Linked DNA regions of Homo sapiens: all the other regions are linked to region 2. Evidence: promoter capture Hi-C in 16 types of primary human blood cells and fetal thymus (Javierre and others, 2016). All regions are on one chromosome and are shown on one strand. Each heading gives the region's core, a stretch centred on a gene start or on the middle of the fragment in contact. The rest is flanking DNA. Distances are from core to core; before and after follow the strand shown. Region 1 overlaps RNF19B (ring finger protein 19B). Region 2 holds the start of AZIN2 (antizyme inhibitor 2). Region 3 holds the start of TRIM62 (tripartite motif containing 62).

Evidence for each region. The method cuts DNA at HindIII sites, captures the fragments that hold promoters and counts their contacts. A CHiCAGO score of 5 or more calls a contact.
Region 1: a fragment that was not itself captured here is called in contact with the fragment with the promoter of AZIN2 in region 2 in 12 of 17 cell types (activated CD4 T cells, naive B cells, total CD4 T cells and 9 more); the score reaches 9.4 in activated CD4 T cells.
Region 3: a contact is called between a fragment that was not itself captured here and the fragment with the promoter of AZIN2 in region 2, in 1 of 17 cell types (naive CD4 T cells). The highest score is 6.2, in naive CD4 T cells.

The regions. Positions count from the first base shown.
Region 1 is chr1:32,952,944-32,957,988 of GRCh38, reverse strand. The region is part of intron 1 of RNF19B (ring finger protein 19B); the gene reads left to right. Among named protein-coding and RNA genes, the nearest start is that of RNF19B, 9.3 kb to the left of the region's middle. The HindIII fragment of the contact is 5,060 bases long and covers 1-4,724 here.
Region 2 is chr1:33,078,402-33,082,738 of GRCh38, reverse strand. It overlaps AZIN2 (antizyme inhibitor 2), which reads right to left and starts at 1,586. Exons shown (of 12, transcript NM_052998.4): 1 at 1,445-1,586; 2 at 1,231-1,351; 3 at 927-1,138; 4 at 385-561. The coding sequence starts at 489. LOC105378635 (a long non-coding RNA gene) reads left to right here and starts at 1,743. Exons shown (of 3, transcript XR_947163.2): 1 at 1,743-1,818; 2 at 2,412-2,540. RefSeq lists a silencer at 1,365-1,624. The HindIII fragment of the contact is 16,354 bases long and covers 1-2,183 here.
Region 3 is chr1:33,180,804-33,185,447 of GRCh38, reverse strand. It overlaps TRIM62 (tripartite motif containing 62), which reads left to right and starts at 3,405. Exons shown (of 5, transcript NM_018207.3): 1 at 3,405-4,423. The coding sequence starts at 4,016. It also overlaps a transcript of ZNF362 not described here. RefSeq lists silencers at 3,231-3,540, 3,771-3,840, 4,431-4,630. The HindIII fragment of the contact is 679 bases long and covers 928-1,606 here.

The DNA of each region.
Region 1 (5,045 bases), core at 945-3,444, 130 kb after region 2:
ATTAGGCTCTAGAAGAGTGTGGTACATAGATGAATTTTGATGAAAAAGATAAGAAATATGAGCAGCATAGTTCTCAGAGGAAGAATAGAGATGAAAGAGATAAGCAAGAATAGTATAGACAGGTGATCATTCAATTCAACAGACAACTTTTTTTTGAGATGGAGTCTCGCTTTGTCGCCCAGGCTGGAGTGCAGTTGTGCCATCTCAGCTCACTGCAACCTCTGCCTCTCGGGTTCAAGCGATTCTTCTGCCTCAGCCTCCCAAGTATCTGGGATTACAGGCATGTGCCACAATGTCCAGCTAATGTTTGTATTTTTAGTAGAAACAGGGTTTCACCATGTTGGCCAGGCTGGGCTTGAATTCCTGACTTCAAGCGAGCCACCCGCCTCACCCTCCCAAAGTGCTGGGATTACAGGTGTGAGCCACCACACCTGGCTTCAACAGATACTTTCAGAATGATACACTGTTGAACCCTGGGTGAGTACTGGGTATTTCAAAAAGAACTTAGACATGGTTTTCTTGATAGGAAGTTTCACCTGGTAGAGGAGACAGATAATTGATACATAGATAGATAGAAAATTATTCAAATGTCATATGATAAATACTAAAGAAAATACGGGTGCTCTTAGATAGATGAAAGAACAATAGAATTTGCATGATGGTTTCAAGAAAGACTTCACAGAGGAGCAGGCATGGTGGTGTGCACCTGTGGTCCCAGCTGCTTAGGAGGCTGAGGTGGGAGGATTAGTTGAGCCCAGGAGTTCGAGACCAGCCTGGGTAATAGCAAGACCCCATACCTGGGAAATGACTAGAGATCAACCTGAAAACGTGGACTGGATTCAGGTTGATAGGCCTGTGTAAGCCATGGAAATAAGTTTTGGGTTGAAGCACTTTTTTTCTTTTTTCTTTTTCTTTGAAGGATTTTAAGCAAAAGAGTAACCTTCCAGAATGGAATTTGGATGGAGTGGGGAATAGGGAGAGCAGATAAGGAGGCTCTTGGAGTTGTCTAGCCTAGAGATGGGTCTTAAATAGGGCAGGAAAAATGAAGATGTTAAGGGTACAGTTCATTGTGACAAGTTGGCGCATGTCTACCACCCTGATGCCTACTAGGGGTCTATTTGTAAATGGGTAGCCTAGTTATGTTACATGACTTGGGGATGGAAAGTACAGACATAATATAGGAACACATTTCTTTAACCACTGAAGTCTATTGGAGCATAATCAAATTTATACTAATGGAAATCTCTTTCCAGGGCTGAAGCTAAGTAATGCTGTGGTCTAGCTTGTCACTTTATGAAGTTTCTGAAGATTTAGGAAATTAATAAAATGAGTAAAAGTTGTATGAACTTAAGCAGCAGGGGCTGGGGTGGGCGGTCTGTAGTCTTTTTCTTTTTTATTATTTTTTATTTTTTTGAGATAGGGTTTAACTCTGTAACTCTGTTGCCCGTGCTGGAGTGCAGTGGTGCAATTTCAGCTCACTAGAACCTCAACCTCCCAGGCTCAGGTGATCCTCCCACCTCAGCCTCCTAAGTAGCTGGGACTGCAGGCATGTGCCACCACACGCCACCGCGCCCCACCACACTCGGCTAATTTTTGTTGTTGTTGTTATTTGAAGAGAGAGTCTCACTCTGTCACCCAGGCTGGAGTGCAGTGGTGCAATCTCGGCTCACAGCAACCTCTGCCTCCTGGATTCAAGTGATTCTCCTGCCTCAGCCTCCCGAGTAGCTGGGAGTAGCTGGGACTACAAGTGCACGCCACCATGCCCAGCTAATTTTTTTGTATTTTTAGTAGAGAGGGGTTTTGTCAGGTTGGCCAGGCTGGTCTCGAACTCCTGACCTCAGGTGATCCACCCACCTCAGCCTCCCAAAGTGCTGGGATTACAGGCATGAGCCACCATGCCCGGCCTAATTTTTGTGTCTTTCGTAGAGATGGGATTTCACCATGTTGCCCTGGCTGGTCTTGAACTCTTGGGTTCAAGTGATCCTCCTGCCTTTGCCTGACAAAGTTCTGGGGTTATGGGCATGAGCCACTGCACCCAGCTGTGTCTGTATTCTTCACAGCATGTAATTTTCTACACCTTTCTTTTAGCTTCTGATTAGCAAGCCTGACTGATTGGTTAAGCTAAAAGAGCAGAGTAGGAGAGATGCACCAGCATGGGACGTGGAAGAGAAGGAACAAAGTGGACAGGGCAGATTGGGTTTCAAGGATGAGGTATTTTCTTTTCTTTTTTTTTTTTTTTTGAGACAGGGTTTAGCTCTGTCTCCCAGGCTGGAGTGCAGTGGCACGATCTTGGCTCACTGCAGCCTCCACCTCCCGGGCTGTAGCCGTCCTCCCACCTCAGCCTCCTGAGTAGCTGGGACTACAGGCATGCACTACAGGCATGCACCACCACGCCTAGCTAATTTTTGTATTTTTTTTTTTTGTAGAGATGGGGTTTTGCCATGTTGCCCAGACTGGTCTCGAACTCCTGAGCTCAAGCAATCCACCCACCTTGGCTTCCCAAAGTGCTGGGATTACAGGTGTGATCCACCATGCCCAGGCGAGGTTTTTTTTTTCCAACTATTCGGGAAGAAGATTACCGTATTCAGAACTTAGGGGTTTACCACTAAAGTGGGTTTATATGAAATTTTAGGATTAGGTTATAGTACCTGGCATATAATAAGCCAATAGATACATGGATACATTGAAAAGATTGCTTTAGAGCAGAGTGATGGCCTAGGAGAAGACCTAGAATGTCCTAGGGAAGGTCAAACAACCAAAACAAGAGAGGGTCTCTGTCATTCATGCAACACAGGTATTTTGAGCATGAACCAGTATACTAGACTGAGATTAAAAAGTGGATGATATGTCTCCTTAAGTCCAGTGTGGTTTGGAAGGCAAGCATATAAACAGTTAGTTACATTATAATGTAAGTGTTATAAAATAATTGTGCACACCCACGAAGTAGGCAACGAGCTGCCTAGAGAGGTTAAGTATATTTTACAGAGAAAATGACACCTGAGTTGGTTCTTAAATGGGTACTTGTCAGGGCAAGAAGTAAGGACAAGACATTTCTAGGTAGAAGGAATAGAGTATGTAAAAGCCAGAAAGTAGGACAGAGTGTACGATGTTTTTACGCCATATATCTTTGAGGACAAGGTCTCACATGCAGTTTTAGAACGTGTTTAGCTACGTTTGAATGTGACAAGTACCTATACCTCCATTTGGTGGAATAGAAGCTAAGGTTTGGAGATTGTTTTTTTTTTTTTTTGAGATGGAATTCCTCTTTTGTTGCCCAGGCTGGAGTGCAGTGGTGTGGTCTTGGCTCACTGCAACCTCCGCCTCCCAGTTTCAAGCAATTCTCCTGCCTCAGCCTCCCGAGTAGCTGGATTACAGGCATGCGCCACCATGCCTGGCTAATTTTTGTATTTTTAGTTGAGACGGGATTTCACCATGTTGGCCAGGCTGGTCTTGAACTCCTGACCTCAGGTGATCCACCTGCCTCGGCCTCCCAGAGTGCTGGGATTACAGGCGTGAGTGACTGCACCAGGCCGGTTTGGAGATTTTAATAGCTTCATGTCATGCAGCATGAGTCAGAGGCAAGAGCTCAGACCAGGTACCCAAAAACAGGAATGCCAAATCTCGTGCCCTGAGTAATTCTGTGTCGTAGTAATAGATTGCTGTGGATTCATGAGTAATTTGGGGTTATTTTACTTCCTTGGCACCAAATTACACACTCAAAATTGACATTGTTGATCCTATCCAATGTTCTTCTTTTTCAAGAAAAAAAAAAAAGTGGGCTGGGCACGGTGGCTCACACTTGTAATCCCAGCACTTTGGGAGGCTGAGGCAGGAGGATCACTTGAAGGCCAGGAGTTCGAGACCAGCCTGGCCAACATGGTGAAACCCCATCTCTACTAAAAATACAAAAAATGTAGCTGGGCATGGTGGCGGGCGCCTGTAAGCCCAGCTACTTGGGAGGCTGAGGCAGGAGAATCGCTTGAACCCAGGAGGCAGAGGTTGCAGTAAGCCGAGAGCACGCCATTGCACTCCAGCCTGGGCAACAAGAGTGAAACTCCGTCTCAAAAAAAAAAAAAAAAAAAAAAAAGAAGTGGGGGCTGGGGGAATGTTAATAAACATTTACTTCTGCCATGTGAGGTAGGAATGGATGATGAAGTGTTCAAGGCTCCCTACTGGATGTCCACTTAATTTGTATCTTTAGAAGTTGACTTAGTGCTTTTCTGAGGTCATCCAGTAACTTTCCCATTTAATGCAAAATAACAAGCTAGTCACTGTCTTGAGGAGACACGTTGTTTATCTTTAGTAGTTATTTTGCAGCTAGGTGGGGTAAATTTGCCCAGAACTCCTACAGGATATGAATCATTTGCATTCATAGACTGACCTGTTCTCACTTTGTTCTTTCTGAAAAGAGTTTTAATACAGCCTGTATTATATAACATAGGGGATACATTGTCATTTATATTTTCAGCATCATTCTCAAGTCAATTTGCAGACTCTATGATAAACCTGAGAACTTGAGTTGCTATGATTAACATCTCATGTACATTCAAATAAACAAGCAAACTGTAGAATAAATCCCAGAAAATGTTATTAGCTTTTTGTACACGTTATTTGAGGTCTTTGAATATTGCGGGAGAGTATTGGAATAGAGGACAGAGTGCAGATGGCAACACGGAAACCTGCAATTACTGATGTTTTTAAAAATGTGTGTCATAGACCAAGCTTGGTGGCTCACGCCTGTAATCCCAATGCTTTGGGAGGCTAAGGCGGGAGGGTTGCTTGAAGACAGAAGTTCCAGACCAGCCTGGGCAACATAGCAAGACCAACCCTGTCTCTACAAAAAAAAAATAAAAAGAAAAAAGAAAAAGTTAGCTGGGCATGGTGGTATGCACTGGTACTTGGAGGCCTGAGGTGGGATCACTTGAGCCCAGGAGTTTCAGGTTGCAATGAGCTATCATCACACCACTGTCCAGAAGCTGGGCAACAGAGTGGGACCTTGTCTTCAAAAAAAAAAAAAAAAAAAAAATTGTGTGATTAACTTTCAT
Region 2 (4,337 bases), core at 337-2,836:
GACCGGGAGATCAGGGGGCCTTTGGAGAGAGGAAGACTGAACTAGAAAGCGAGGTTCCACATAAGCACACTGGAGGCTTATTTAAGGAGGCAGAATTCACAGAGCTTGGTAATGCCTAGATGTGGGCGGTGAGGGAGAGGGGGCAGCAGGAAAGGAATCCCCCGTTTCTGACCTTGGAGGGCTGGGTAAAAAGGCAACATAGGAGGGGCAGGTTTGGGGGCAAGGACAAAGAATTGGGGATAAATTGAGCCCCTCTCTTGCAAATAGCAAGGATTGCGTACCAAATAAGCGAAAGGATAAGATGAGGGCCCTAGGGACCCTTCCTGAGGAGGCAGCTGATCTGTACAGGGGACCGGGGACCCACCCCCATTCCCAGCCCCTCACCGTGGTGGCCTGTGAGGCCCCCAGAGTGAGTTCCTTCAGCAGGTCTCGGGTACTGAAGCCCTCCTCCACCATCACAAAGTCCGATTCACTCAGGTAGCCAGCCATGCCTTGCAGGAGGAGCTGACGGGCTGGATGGAGCCGCTGCTGCAGCCGCCGCCTTAGAAAGTATGCAACACACTGCGGGGCGAGGGGAGATGAAGGGAACCGCTGGGGGGCCGGCTCTGCTGCCCCACTCGCCTCCCGAGGCCAGGGATCCCAATCCCGTCACAACCCGCCCCCAGCACAAGCCCGGGGTTCACTGGGCAAGGGTGGAGAAAGTCAAGAATCCCGGATTTCAGACGGAGACAAGGCACCGTATGCCCAAATGTCACTGCCTCTCCGAGTCAGTTGCTCCCTCTGTAAAATGGATGAATTGTTTTGGAGAGCCTTCCCAGTTCTGAAATTCTGGATTTCAGGAAAGAGTGAGAGAGAGATGGAACAGAAAATCTGAGAAACTTGGGTGGGGAAGTTTCCAGGGCGCCCCCAGTCTTGACCACGCCCACCTAGAGGGTAGCCGGTGGCCACATCAAGGCGTCTCAGCCTAAGAGCAAGAGCTTAAGTTCGAGTCCGCTCTCTACTGCTTGACCTCGGGTACCCTCTGACCCTTTCGGAGCCGCAGTTTCCCCAATTGTAAATGGGGGCTGGACTGATCCTGAGGTGCTAGAATTCTAGGCGTGCCTGGGGACGCCACGCGGTGGGTGGGGGCCGCAAGCTCCTGGGAGAGAACGGAAGGCCGAGGTTTTTTCTGTCCGAGTGACTCCTACAGAGTGCAGGGCTGAGGTCCCCCCAACCCCCAGGGCCCCTTACCAAACTCCGTCCTCCTTCGCGGGGGCCAGAGCCAGGCGCGCTGCTAGGGGGGGTCGCCGGTGACCTCGAAACTTGTGCAACACCCCGAGGAGGAGTGGCAGTTGCGGAGCCGAGGCCTCTGCTGACAGGAGGCAGAAGGGGCAGGGAGGCAGGTCAGCACCAGGGCGGAGGGCGTCCGCTCCCCGAGGCTCCCCAGGCCACTTTCCGCACTCGCCTTAAAACGCATTTACACGGCTTCGGCCCATAGGTCTCCCCAGGGAGTGAATCGGATCCTCGGCGCCTCCGCTCTCTCGCTTCCCCGGGCTCGGGTCCCGCGGCCTGCGCCCCGCCAGCCCAGCAGCCACAGACCCCCACGCCCCGCCTTCCGCCCGCCGCTGGCTTATATAACCCCGCCCAGGCCCCGCCCATAGTGCCGAGGCCCTACCTCCGCTTGGCCGTAGCCCTGGCAACCGGGTGCCGCCATCCCATTGGTCGATTCCGACATAAAGCATTCAGCTCTGCTCGCCCTTACTGTAGTCTTCTCCCCCGGAGGCCTGGCGGTGGCTACCTCACGCTGGAAGTCAGAACTACAGGGCCGCCGCCACGCAGGTGAGACACTTAGACCCTGCATCTTAGGTCTTAGAGAGTGGGCAGGACCAGGAAGCCTTTTCTGCCTCTGCCTCAACTTACTTCGTGGTCCAGCTCTTGTCTGCGTCAGGAACTGCTCACTCATCTCTCGAAACCCGGTTCCAATGACATGTCCTTGTATTACTTTTGTAATAAAATTCTTTTTATTTAATTGCCTCTTCCAGGCATCTTCCCCGACTCCAACTCAAAACGCATCTAAAATGTCTTCAGAGAACCTTTTTGTGACTTTCCCAGTTCAGGGCAATCCCTCCCTTTATCCCATCCTGTGAACCCGGCAAACTCTTACTCATCTCTCAATAGAAATGTGTCTCCTTCTCCAAGAAGCTTTCCCGGACTTCCTCAACTCAAAGCATTTCTTCTATACCGAAAGCTGCTGCTCACCCATCAAAGTCCTGTATAATGTCACCTCTGTTGAACCTTCCATGACTTGCCTGGCCCCAAGGAACACAGCATTTAGTCTGTCTGGACCCCTCACTCATTTGGTTCTTGTTACCCATAGCGTGAGATTCCTGTTGTTATTTTACACTTCTTGTTTGGTTACACTTTGCATCTAGTTTGTGATTTCCCAAGGGCAAGGACTGAATACCCTGCTCAAGAGCCTGGTGCCTGGCATAGACAAGAATGCTGAGGAAGATTCAATAGCTGTGTTACTCAAAAGCTGATATAAAAGTTCATCTGGAAAAGTAAGTGTACAAGAACAGTCAAGACACTCTTTTTGCCCAGGCTGGAGTGCAATGGCACGATCTCAGCTCACTGCAACCTCTGCCTCCTGGGTTCAAGCGATTCTCCTGCCTCAGCCTCCCAAGTAACTGGGATTATAGGCGCATGCCACCACGCACAGCTAATTTTGTATTTTCAGTAGAGATGGGGTTTCACCATATTGGCCAGGGTGGTCTTGAACTCCTGACCTCCAGTAATCTACCCGCCCCGGCCTCCCAAAGTGCTGGGATTATAGGCGTGAGCCACCGCGCCCGGCCAAAACTACAGTCTTTAAAACAGTATGGTGCTGGAGCAGGAAGAGACAGTGGTAAAACAGAACAGGGTCTACAACAGTCCCATATACATTGGAGATTGGTACACAATGGAGGCAGCATTTCAAATCAATGAAGCCAAAGGGCTTTTGGTCTACCATATGTCTTCATGTCCCCTGCTAGGCTGTGGGCTTTTTTTTTTTTTTTTCTCTTTTGAGACAAGATCTGGCTCTGTCACCCAGGCTGGAGTGCAGTGACATGACCTCAGCTCACTGCAACCTCCACCTCCCAGGCTCAAGTGATCCTCCAACCTCGGCCTCCCAAGTAGCTGGGACTACAAGTGCATGCTACCATACCTTGCTGATTTTTGTATTTTTTGTAGAGACAGGGTTTCGCCCTGTTGCCCAGGCTAGTCTCAAACTCCTGAGCTCTAGCAATCTGCCTGCCTCAGCCTCCCAAAGTGCTGGGATTACAGGCGTGAGCCACCATGCCCAGTGGGCTGTAGACTTTTTTTTAAATCAGAGGCACTTCTTGTCCCGCCTTAGTATCTCCCTAGGACACTGCACAACCTAGTTAGAACATGCTCAGTACACAAATGGTGTGGGGCAGGGACCAGAAGCAGGAGAGCCATTTTCTGCTCCCTACCCAGCTGGGACATATAATTGCTGGGTGTCCTTGGCTGAGTCACCCTAACTGGATCTGGGTCACTTCTGCCTGGCTTGATTTCCCCCTGTGAACTGAGAGGTTTCAGACTGATTTCTCTGGGCCCTTCTGCCTGGAACCATCTTGTTTTCTATGCATAGGAGTAGTATTTCAGGAGGCAGCTTTATAGGACAGTCATTTGCAGGACCTTTCTTTGAGATTAATAGTCATTTGCAACATAGTATGAGAACAAGTATCTACCAATCAGGAAGGGTAGATTAGGACGGCCATGGCAGAAACCCTAAAAGATTATACTGAGAGGGCCAGGCGCGGTGGCTCACGCCTGTAATCCTAGCTGAGATGGGAGGATCACGAGGTCAGGAGATCGAGACCATCCTGGCTAACATGGTGAAACCCCATCTCTACTAAAAATACAAAAAAAAATTAGCCAGGTGCGGTGGCGGGAGCCTGTAGTCCCAGCTACTCGGGAGGCTGGGGCAGGAGAATGGCGTGAACCCGGGAGGCGGAGCTTGCGGTGAGCCGAGATCACGCCACCGCACTCCAGCCTGGGTGACAGAGCAAGACTCTGTCTCAAAAAAAAAAAAAAAATTAGACTGAGAGGAGAGGAGCACCCGAATAACTTTGGCTCTACTTTTAGTTAAATCATTCTCTGAGCTGTCTGCATTTGGATGTCATGGTCTGGGTCTGCCCTACCAGCTTTTTTCATCACCTAGTAGGCACATAATAGGTACATTCAATATGTTTACTGAATGAATCAATAGAGGTAAGAAGAAACGAGCCAGAATCCAGTCTGTCCATTTGGAATCTATCAAGAGTAAGTAATCAGAGCAGAAAAATCTGCACCCT
Region 3 (4,644 bases), core at 18-2,517, 100 kb before region 2:
GAGTTTGAGACCAGCCTGGCCAACATGGTGAAACCCCCTCTCTACTAAAAATACAAAAATTAGCTTGGCGTGGTGGCGGGCACCTGTAATCCCAGCTACTCGGGAGGCTGAAGCACAAGAATTGCTTGAGGCTGGGAGGTGGAGGTTGCAGTGAGCCAAGATTGCACCACTTCACTCCAGCCTGGGCAACAGAGCAAGACTCCATCTCAAAAGAAAAAAAAAAGAGTCTGTGACTTTCAGCCAGAGAAAACCACATACTATGTCCTTTGGAGGAGATTAGACCTACATATTAAGACTATCTACTGAAAGGATTTAGACAATAGAGTAAAATAGTACCAGAGCCTCTTCTAAAAACAGCTGCAAAATTGGCTGGGCGCAGTGGCTCATGCCTGTATTCCCAGCACTTTGGGAGGCAGAGGCGGTTGGATGACCTGAGGTCAGGAGTTTGAGACCAGCCTGACCAATATGGTGAAACCCTGTCTTTACTAAAAATACAAAAATTAGCCAGGCATGGTGGTATGCGCCTGTAGTCCCAGCTACTAGGGAGGCTGAGATAGGAGAATCACTTGGACCTGGGAGGCAGAGGTTGCAGTGAGCCAAGATCATGCCACTGTGCTCCAGCCAGGGTGACAGAGCGAGACTCCATCTCAAATAAATAAATAATAAAAACAGCTGCAAAATAGTATGGAGAAAGCTGGGCTGCTGCAACAAAAGACCCAAAATACAATGGCTCTTAGAAAATAAGTTTACTTCTCACTCTGTAGTCCATGTCAGGGTGGCTGTACTTCATGCAGTCATTCAGGAACCCAGGATCCTCCCATATCTTTGCTCCATCAGCCCTTTTGAAGCATTATTGAAGCTGTGTCCCTGGTACATCTATGTTCCAACTCAAGAGAAGAGAAAATGGAGCATGGGAGAGCAAAAGCTTCATGCCTTAAGGTCTATTTCTATTTATGTTCTATTAGAAAGATTTTAGTCACCAAGTCTCACTCGGCTGCAAGAACAGCTGGGATGTATGATCTCTAGTGGACCAGCCATTCCTCCGACTGCTACTCTACTACATAGAAGAACAGGAGGATGAAGTTTAGTGGACAGCTAGCAATTTCCATCACATCTCCTTTATTTGAGCCTTGGTATCTTCCTCTATAAAACGGGGATAATAATATAAACTAGTTAAGGCTGCTTTGGGACTGAAATCCAATAATATATGTGAGAATGCTTAGCAAGCCCTACTGTGCCTGATAAGAATTTCTCATTGATTTTGCCCTCTAGACTGCCAGCTCCTTGGGAGCAAGGAGCATAGTTTATTCCACCTCCTCACAAAGACCTGCTTGGAGTCAGCATCAGTAAATACATGTTGAATAATGAAGTCACTGTTTCATCCATCATCAAGCCTTTTTTTTTTTCATTTCATTTCAAATGCTTCAATAATTTAGACTCTGCCCTGTTCACTTTCCCCACCCCCTCATTAGGGGTGCACGTCAGTATATCAGTTGGGATTCTCTGGGTTGCAAAGTGACAATGCACTACTGTTAAACTGGCTTATGCAATAAGATGGACCATCTCACATATCCTGAAGTCCAGACTCTGCATCAGAATAAAAGCTTCTCTTCCCTAGGACTCTCTTGGCCTTGCCCTCCCTTCTGTATTTGCTGCATCCTCAGACTGGGAGCAAGATGGCTGTTGCAATTCCAAGCATTGCCACCAAACATATCCCAGCAAAGGGGGCAGACTGTTTTGCAAAGTAAAGAGACCATTTCCTGAAAACCCCTCTCTGCCATAGGCTTCCCCTTTAGTTTTTCAGGCTGGACCTGCCCAAACCGTCACTGGCAAGAGGAATGAGACCACCATAATGGACTTGGACCAAACAAGACTCACTCCATGAGACCACCATAATGGACTTGGACCAAACAAGACTCACTCCTGGAAATGGGCTGGGGTCAGCCTTCCTTGGGTCACTTGGGGAAGGGGGCCACCTGACCAAAATCAGGGCTCTGCCCATAAGAAAATGTTGAGAAACTGCTGTTGCATGAGCAACCAACTATTTTTCTCGCAATGATGGAGATTCTGGGCCAGATGAGGGTGTGATGGAGAAAGTGTTAACCATAGAGAACTAAACTGAGAGCTTTTTCATAAACTGTACCTCAATAAAGTTTAACACCAATGAAGATATTTCTGGAGGAGGCAGAAACTGGTAGCCACCCTCTATGGCTCATTTCCCTCACCCCCGTATCCAACCATCACCAAATGTCACCGTGTCTGTACTTGCAATACCCTAGTCTTCTCTCCTTACCCACTGCTGAGGCCCCAGTTCGGGTCTCACCTCCTGCAGGCACGATGACAACAGCACCTTAGGGGTGCCCAGTCTTTCCTTCCTCCTGCAACCCAGGGCGTTGATGCGGTTATTCAGCTACACACCTTTACTGTGTGCTGAGTGCTGTGCATCCGCAGACACATTGGAAAAGCTCCCTGTCTTCTTCACCTTGCAGATGGTATAATGATTATCTCCAAGACTTCCTGAAACCCAATCGGACCAGGTCATTCCCTTGCCTGAAAGCCCCATGCCTTCAAGAAATTCTTTACCATGACCCACAATGCCCTCCAGCCCACCCAGGCTCCTTCTCCACCCCACCCCCAACAGTACAGAATTACTAGCACTTCCTTCACTGCGCCCTCCCCTTTCACGCCTCTATGCTTTTGCACAGGCTGTCTCCTCTGCCTAGAAATCCCTTATCCCCTCTCCATCTGGCACACAAGACAAGTTCTCCTATTACTTTTTCTCCCTCTCTCCTGCTCCACCCCTCACCGCCTTACACACACACACACACACACACACACACACACACAAATACAGCACTCCAGAATTGTTTGCCAATGGAGGCAGCCTCCGGGGCCAGATGTTAGCCAGGGCTTTCCAAACTTCTCCCCAAGCACTCCTTAAGAAAGTGAAGAGGAAATGGGACCCCAGGGCTTAGGAGTGTGAGGGCCTTGAACTCGCTCTAAGCAAGCAGGGCATTTCAAGAGTTTTATCTTTATATTTTATGCAGAAGTTGTATTCCAAATATATTCTTGTTCGTTTTAATACAAAATATGATTTTTTCTACATCTTCAAATCGATGATCCAGAAAGATGCTCCTTGTTTATTTGTTGTGCTCTCAAATTAGCTGCTCCGCCTCGCCGCGGGGACCCTAAGCGAGACCTGGATGCAGTTCCAAGTACACACCCCGAAGGAACAGCTGGGCTTCGCTTCCCTGGGAGCTGGAGGATGGTGGGGGTGGGGCGGGGTCAACCGGCTGGTGGCCCCGCCCCTCCCCCGCCCGCTGCGGGGGCGGAGTTGCTTGGGTCCCGCCCACGGGGGCGGGGAGGCAGCCGCGGCCACCGGCAGCTCGGATTCGGCTGGTTCCGGGTTGAGAGGCTGCGCTGGACCGAAGCGGTGGCTGCTAAGCTCGCGGGGGTAAGGGGTCGCGCTGGGCCAGGGTTTGGGGCCGGGATCCGGCAGCTGAGCGGGCCGGCACCCCTCCTCTTCTCTGCCGGTCACAGCCAATGTACGGCTCGGCCTGGCTGCCCCCTCCCCCAGGATTCCCCATCCCCAGCTTCTCGCCCTCCCCGCACCGCCCCCACCCCGGGATTTCGACCCCCTTAAGGGCTCCACCCCGCTCCGGGATCCCCTTCTCCCAGCTCCTATCCCTTAGGACTGCCCCGCCCCCTAGAACCTCCCCGTCAGGATCTCCGTCCCTCAGCCGCTCACAGCCTCCTCCCAGCGCCCATCGCCTTGAGCTGCCCACTACCTCTAGACTGCCCTCCCGGGCTGGCGTCCCACGGAGTCTCAGCCGCGCACCCCTTCCTCGCGTTACCCTCCTTCCGGACAGCACCCCCTCCCTTCTCCGGTAGCTCCTACCCCTGCCTGTGCGGGCCTCGTCCCCGCGCCCAGCCCTCGGTGCTGCCTCCGACAGCGCCGCGCTCTCTCAGCCGCCCCCCTGCCCCTCGGGCCCCCCTCTCTGCTGCCCCTGGCGCCATGGCGTGCAGCCTCAAGGACGAGCTGCTGTGCTCCATCTGCCTGAGCATCTACCAGGACCCGGTGAGCCTGGGCTGCGAGCATTACTTCTGCCGCCGCTGCATCACGGAGCACTGGGTGCGGCAGGAGGCGCAGGGCGCCCGCGACTGCCCCGAGTGCCGGCGCACGTTCGCCGAGCCCGCGCTGGCGCCCAGCCTCAAGCTGGCCAACATCGTGGAGCGCTACAGCTCCTTCCCGCTGGACGCCATCCTCAACGCGCGCCGCGCCGCGCGACCCTGCCAGGCGCACGACAAGGTCAAGCTCTTCTGCCTCACGGACCGCGCGCTTCTCTGCTTCTTCTGCGACGAGCCTGCACTGCACGAGCAGCATCAGGTCACCGGCATCGACGACGCCTTCGACGAGCTGCAGGTGCGCTACCCGGCCTGCCTGGGGAAGGGGCGGGGCCGGGCTGGAGGTGGGGCCGGGCGGGGGGTGGGGTCAGGGCTGGACCGCGGGCCAGGCCCAGTCAGAATGGTCCTGGGGCGGGGCCGCCAGCAAGGTCAGGGCCCTATCAGGAGTAACGCGGGGCAGGGAGGGGCGGGGCCGCCGCATGGCGGGGCCGTGGGGGCGGGGCCTTGGGCAGTCCGGAC